Linked DNA regions of Homo sapiens: region 1 is linked to region 2. The links are contacts of gene promoters, found by promoter capture Hi-C in human tissues and cell types (Jung and others, 2019). All regions are on one chromosome and are shown on one strand. The core of a region is centred on a gene start or on the middle of the fragment in contact, and the rest is flanking DNA. Distances in the headings are between cores, read along the strand shown. Region 1 has its middle 27 kb from the start of STOML1. Region 2 holds the start of TBC1D21 (TBC1 domain family member 21).

What was found. The method cuts DNA at HindIII sites, captures the fragments that hold promoters and counts their contacts. A contact is called where the count stands out against the background at its distance.
Region 1: a contact is called between a fragment that was not itself captured here and the fragment with the promoter of TBC1D21 in region 2, in 2 of the 25 tissues and cell types used here (H1 embryonic stem cells and aorta).

What each region holds. Positions count from the first base shown.
Region 1 is chr15:73,963,499-73,966,885 of GRCh38, reverse strand. No RefSeq gene overlaps it. Among named protein-coding and RNA genes, the nearest start is that of STOML1, 27 kb to the left of the region's middle. RefSeq lists a silencer at 811-960. The HindIII fragment of the contact is 3,981 bases long and covers 107-3,387 here.
Region 2 is chr15:73,872,111-73,875,641 of GRCh38, reverse strand. It overlaps TBC1D21 (TBC1 domain family member 21), which reads right to left and starts at 2,078. Exons shown (of 11, transcript NM_153356.3): 1 at 1,873-2,078. The coding sequence starts at 1,932. LOC102723657 (a long non-coding RNA gene) reads left to right here and starts at 2,107. Exons shown (of 6, transcript XR_932455.3): 1 at 2,107-2,347. The HindIII fragment of the contact is 7,159 bases long and covers 1-3,531 here.

The sequences.
Region 1 (3,387 bases), core at 848-3,347, 91 kb before region 2:
CACAAAGCCTCTCGTGTAACCCCTTTACAGCCACACCCTCCCCTCCCTTCTGATATGGTACTGATCTGGGTCCCCACCAAACCGGGTGGAGTTCTCATGAATGGATTAGCACCATGAGATCTAGTTGTTCAAAAGTGTGTAGCACCTCCCATCTCTTTTCCTCCTGCTCTGGCCATGTAAGTGGTGCCTGCCTCCTCCTTTGCCCTCCCCATGGTTGTAAGTTCCCTGAGGCCTCCCCAGAAGCTGAAGCCACCACGCTTCCTGTACAGACTGCAGAACCATGAGCCAATTAAACCTTTTGTCTTTATAAATTACCCAGTCTCAGGTATTTCTTTATAGAAAGAGGAGAACGGACTAATACACATTCCTAACTCCTGACAACCACTAGTCTATTCCCTCTCTAATTATATTATTTGCCGTGTAAATAGAATCATGCAGTGATGTATCCTTTTGAGGCTGGCTTTTTCACTCAGCAAAAGTTCATCCAAGTTGTTGCTTGTACCAATAGTTCATTCCTTCTACAGCAGAATAGTATCCTGTGGTATGAATATACCATAGTTTGTGAGTATTTTCTGGTTTAGGGCTATTATAAATAAAGCTTCTATGAACATTTGTGTACAAGTTCCACCATGAAAATAAGTTTTCATTTCTCTGGGAAAAATGCATGACAGTGCAATTGCCGGGTTTTATGATAAGTCCATTTTTATTTTTGAAAGGAACTGGTTATATTTTGAACATGGGGCCAACAGGATTATCTGACAAATTGAACGTGGGTTTGAGAGAAAAGAGGAGTCAGGGATGGTTCTAAATGAAAGCATGCTGGAACACAGTAAGGGCTTGGTAAATGTCAGCTGCACAAGTGGTAGCAAATACAGCTGCAATCATGAAAGAAATGAGAAAAACCACGAGGCACTGTAAGCCATGAGACATTGCCCTAGAAGGCATTTAGAGTCACTCATTTGCATATGTTAAAAGTGAAAGAGAAGAGTGTTTTATTTCCTCTTAGGATATAGAAAAACCACAAGGGAACATCATTCCCATTCTTTTCTGGGGGGGCTCCAGTGATCATCCCACCTCAGCCTCCTGAGTAGCTGGGACTACAGGCTCCTGTCGCCATGTCTGGCTAATTTTTTTTTTTTTTTTTTTTTTTTTTTTGTAGAGACAGGGTTTCCCCATGTTGCTCAGGCTGGCTGGTCTTGAACTCCAGGGCTCAAAGGGTCCACCCACCTCACCCCCGAAAGTGCTGGGAGTACAGGAATGAACCACCCCGCCCCCCGACTCTAACAATAACAAAACACCAGATAATTTGCAAAACCATAATTTCTTAAACCAGTCAGATAGCTGAGGTGGCAGGCAACCAAGAGAACTGAATTCCAAAGAGTGACAAGCCCCTCCAAGGAAAGGCAAGACCAACTGTCTTGGGCAGAGCATGTGGTGGGCAGGAGGGAGTCTGCCCTGCCTTCTGAGCTTTTTGCACAGGCCTTCACTGCAGGAAAAAGACTGGAGGCAGAGGGGGAGCCGGGAGAGACCCCTCCCCCTTGCTGGTGGCACAAGCACTCAAGCGGTGATTGACTGCTGTGCAGCGACCCCCACCTGCTTCCCCAGGACGATTCTCTCTGGGCAAAACCACGTGGGAGGCTGCACTCTCTGGCCCCAGGGCTGCTGCGGGAGAGGCAGAAACGAAGATCCACTGCTTCTGGGGCAGGATCAAAGTAAACACCACTTGCCCCTGTGGGAGGCGCAGGACGCACTCTCCTGTGTTAAACCCACAGGAGATAGAAGGCACGACAGGAGGGACAGGAGCACTTCGAAGACTCCACCTTCTGAGACCCTAGTACACAGGCTCTGCGGAGGCTGGGCCAGGAGAATGGAGCAACATCCCACCGTCCGGAAACCCTTTAACACACGTCCACAAACTGCCTCCACTACTAGCCCAACCAAGAGTAGCAGCAACGGCATTTACCACCAGGGGGCGGGCAAGAGCACACAGAGACATTTACCACCAGGAGGAGGGCAAGACCACGCATCCCCTAGGTAGTGCAGGCGAGCAGGGGTTGCTGAGAGCTGAGGGTGGAGCCGCAACTTCCAGAAAATTTCCGGGACCCTCAGGCTGTCTGTGAGAAACACACTTTAAATATAAAAACCTAGGGCTGGGGCGGTGGCTCACACCTGTAATCCCAGCACTTTGGGAGGCCTAGGCGGGCTGATCTCCTGAGGTCAGGAGTTCGAGACCAGCCTGGCCAACATGGTGAAACCCCATCTCTACTAAAAATACAAAAATTAGTCGGATGTGGTGGCACATGCCTGTAATCCCAACCACTTGGGAGGCCGAGGCACGAGAATCGCTTGAACTCGGGAGGTGGAGGTTGCAGTGAGCTGAGATCACGCCATTGCACTTCAGCCTGGGCAACAGAGCGAGACTCTGTCTCAAAAGAAATAAAAAATAATAATAAAGACCTAGATAGCCTAAAACCAAAGGAATGGAAAAAAGGCATGCCATGCAAACACTAATCCAAAGAAAGCTCAAGTGTCTATATTAATGTCAGATGAAGCAGAAACAGAGAATATTTCCAGGAATAAAGAAGGACTGTATATAAAGGGGTTGATTCATCAAGAGGACATCATAACTGTCCATGCATGTGCACTGGAGAACACAGTCAGGGTACATGCAATCGAGACCGTTAGAGCTGAAAGGAGAAATAGACACATCCACTCTTCTCTCAATATTTGGTAGAGCGAGTACACAGAAAATCAGGCTGGGTATGGGTAACTTGAATAACACTAATAACCAACAATCTGATTGACATTTATAGGACATTTCGCACAACAACAGCAGAATACACATTCTTTTTGAGTGCCCATGGAACTTTAGCAAGATAGACCATATTCTGGGCCATAAAGCAAATCTTAACAAATTAAAAATAATTGAAATCATACAAAGTATGTTTTCTCACCATAATGAAATTAAACTATAAATCAGTAACAGAAAGATATCTGGAAAGTCCCCAAATGTTTGGAAATCAAACAACACACTTTTAGATAACTTATGGTTCAAAGAAGAAACCATGAGGATAATTAGAAATATTCTAATGGAAATAAAAATACAACATATCAACACTGTCGATGAAAAGAGTCGAACTCTGTAAAATATTTTAGGAGATTTATTCTAAGCCAAATATGAGTGACCATGGCCCGTGACACAGCCCTCCGAAGCTCCTGAGAACATGTGAACATGTGCCCAAGATGGTCGGGGTGCAGCTTAGTTTTATATATTTTAGGAAGCATGAGACATCAGTCAAATACATTTAAGAAATACATTGGTTTGGTTCAGAAAGGAGGGACAACTCAAAGTGGGGACTTCCAGGCTATAGGTAAATTTAAACATTT
Region 2 (3,531 bases), core at 829-3,328:
GAGGAAGCCTTGGCCATTCTTCCCCTGGGGAAGGGGACCAGAAGTGGGAGCCCTAAGTGGCTCAGTCCCTCTAAAAGTTTCCTGCTGCTAGAGGCCTTGGCTTCAGGCATAAATCTCCTCTCCCCACTGCATCATTGGGTTAGGGGTTTTCTCCCATATTTTCAGTAAAAAAAGAAAGCCTTTGGAGGACAAGAAAAACTTTTTATGAGGGTTTTAATGCCAAGTTTCTCTGAATACTCATAGCCACAGAACCTCCAATAAAGCCCAGGGAAGGTCATTGACTTTGCTTAAGCTTCCCTCCCTCCCTCCCTCCCTCCCTTCCTTCCTTCCCTTCTTCCCTCCTTCCCTCCTTCCTTCCTTCTTTCTTCTTCTTCTTCTTCTTTTTTTTTTTTTTTGATGGAGTCTCACTCTGTCGCCCAGGCTGGAGTGCAGTGGCGCAATCTCAGCTCACTGCAACCTCCACCTCCCTGGTTCAAGTGATTCTCCTGCCTCAGTCTCTTAAGTAGCTGGGATTACAGGGACTCACTACCACGCCTGGCTAATTTTTTGTATTTTTTAGTAGAGACAGGGTTTTGCCATATTGGCCAGGCTGGTCTTGAACTCGCGACCTCAGGTGATCTGCCCGCTTCGGCCTCCCAAAGTGCTGGGATTACAGGCGTGAGCCACTGCACCTGGACAGGTTCTCTTTTCTACTCCAGTTCACCTGAGGACAAGATAGACTCCCAACCGTAACAAGGGGTTCCCACTTCAGCAATTATTACCAACCCAGGTGTGGAGGGTGTATCATCAGTACAGCACCGTGATGAAGAAAATGGTTTAAAACAGTGGTTCACAAAGCTAATTGTGCATCACAGTGCCCTGGAGGGATGAGTTACAAAAAACACAGATCTCTGGGCTTCGTCTCCAGTTTATTGGTTCAGAAGATCTGGGGCCCAAGAGTCTGCATTCTTACAAGTTCCCAGTTGGTGCTAATGCTGCAGGTTTGGATGCCACACTTTGAGAATACTGAGTTTTGCACCCCACCTGTCTGGGTCGAAATACAACTTCTGCCACTTAACAAGCTGTGTGACTGTAGGCAAGTGACAAAGTCTCTGTGGCTCCATGTTCTCATTTATAAAAGGAAGACAACAGCATTATTCACTTCATAGAGTTGTGATGAGAATGAATGACTATAAATAAAGCATTTAGAACATTCATCGTACATAATAAATGCTATGTGACAGTTTATTTTATTAGCCTTCTCTAAGCTCAGAGAAATGAGAAAGATATAAAGAAAATTTAAAGCAAGGCCTGGTGATAATTTGCCATAAAGCAGTAACATTTAAAACTCAGGGAGAGGAGTGTCCATTTTGCATTTTTATGTATCACTCTCTTAATCACTATGATTAATGAGACTTAAGATTGGCTAAAGTTATTGTAATTAGTTATGATTTTGAAAAAATACCGTGTGGAAAATTTTTATGACTGAAGCCGACTTCTAACAAATAGCTGTATCTTGTAAACTGGGTTTAGAACTACCTACTAACAAAAGCATTACTGCCACCTGGTGGCAGTATACCAAAATTGTTGGCAAAAAGCACCGATGAAAATCTATCAGCATCTTCAGGTTCGCACCTGCAAACCTACAACTCAATAAAGTTAGAATAGCACATATGTGGAGAAGGTTTTGCTGGCTTGGAAAGAAGGTGAAAGGGGGCTTGGATGTCTCAGTCCTGTCCTTGGGCTGATGGTAAGAGTAAGGTACAACCGCCCTTGCTCCACCTTCTATGTTAGCTCAGGGTTCTAGCTTTTCCTACCCAGCAGGGGAAAATGGTCCCAGTGCCAACCAGAGGCTGGGGAGGGAGGCACTCAGAGCTGACAAAGAACACGCACCAGGATGAAGGAGGCTGACTGTCTGGCAGAGAGGCTGTTTTCAGGAGAGAGGGTGGTCATGGCCCCTGCTGTCTTCCGAACAGCCTCTGATCAGAACTCACTTGGAGCCCTAGTGATGCTTAATCCTTTTCGGAGATGGGTTGCATTCCCAGGAGGAACTGGCTGCTCCTGACCTCCCACACTTGAACAGAGCCGGCCAGCAGTGTGTCACAAGTCCCCTGGAACTCTCATCACAATGACCTGGAACACGGGAACACCCACCTTTAGAGATGAGACACAAGCAGGAGAAGAGGGATTAAACCTGCTAGTTTTGGAAAAAAAAAAAAAAAGGAAAGAAAAGAAAAGAAAGAAAGAAAAACAAAAAACAACAACAAACAGAAAAATGCAAAACTGCAGAACACGCAGTGGAGGTTGGATTCAGAGGACATGGGGATCAGTGTGGGCTGTGCTGGTCAAGGAGGGCTTCCAGGGAGAGGTGGGCCATGAAGCCTTGCTCTCTATCTCTGACTCTTCCTCTGGACTCTCTTAGCTGGACTCCCTCCCTATTCCACCAGACCAGTGCCCAAAGTTGGAGAATAACTAGAAACCAGGCTTCAGATGTCTTGGGTACCAGTTATAAAGATTCAGAATCAGTATGTCAGTGCTGGGGCCTGGGGGGCTGGGGAATGTGTTTTGATATGCCTCCTGGGGTGACTTAGCTTCAGCATTGGAATGGTAGCTTCTGGGGTGGAGATCAGTTTTGTTTAGCTTTTTATTTGGAGCACTTACGATCGTGCCTGAGTAGCTGAGTTAATGATTTAATTGAATGGGAGAATAAATGAAGCTGTCTTAGACCTCATCTCACTTCCCTCTCTGTATGTATGACAGAGATTTGTGCCTGCCCCATATCACCTCCTACCCTGAGTTCCTTTAGGCCAGGGTCAACATCAGATTCCTCTGTGGTTCCCTCTCCCAATGCCAGTTCTGCCATCACTTGGCACTTGGTAGGTGCTCAATATTTGTTGCATGGACCCAAGGAGTTGGCTCTGCTTGGCTCCAGCATCACTCTTCTCCACCTTAAGCATTGCTTGCACTTCTACTCAGGTCCCATCTGGCTCTAAAGCATCCTTAGTCATTAGGAGATGATAGTAATTCGACCAACCAAATTGGAATCAGGAGCTGGGTGTTGGAATTTGGACTCTGACCTCAAATTTGGATGCTCCCCGCTTCTGAGCTACAGATTCCCCAGACATGAAATCAGAATACAGTCAACCTCTGGCTTTCACCTCCTTATTAACATAATGAATCACTGTCCATATGGAGTCTTCCACGGACACAATTCATTGTCTCATTTACTGTTTCTGTTCTGCTTGCCTGCGGCACTGCAGAAGGCCTTTTAAATCAAAATGCCTTATTATCGGCCTCTCTCCTCTACCCACTACCCTAGCTCAACCTAGGAGAGAGTTAAGAGCCTCTTCCCTTTGATCTACTGCCCCTAGGTCTTCATGGAGTGGGAGGTGGGCAACGTTGAGTAGGGAAGGTGTGGAGTAAGGATGGGGCCCCTTGCACATTAGGGTGGCTTCATTCTAAGGTCTGCAAGAAGTTTCCAAAGCAAATGTTTAGAGCAAGAGACATAGACATCATTTAGGATTATCTATGTCTCTGTTCTTCCACATTAAC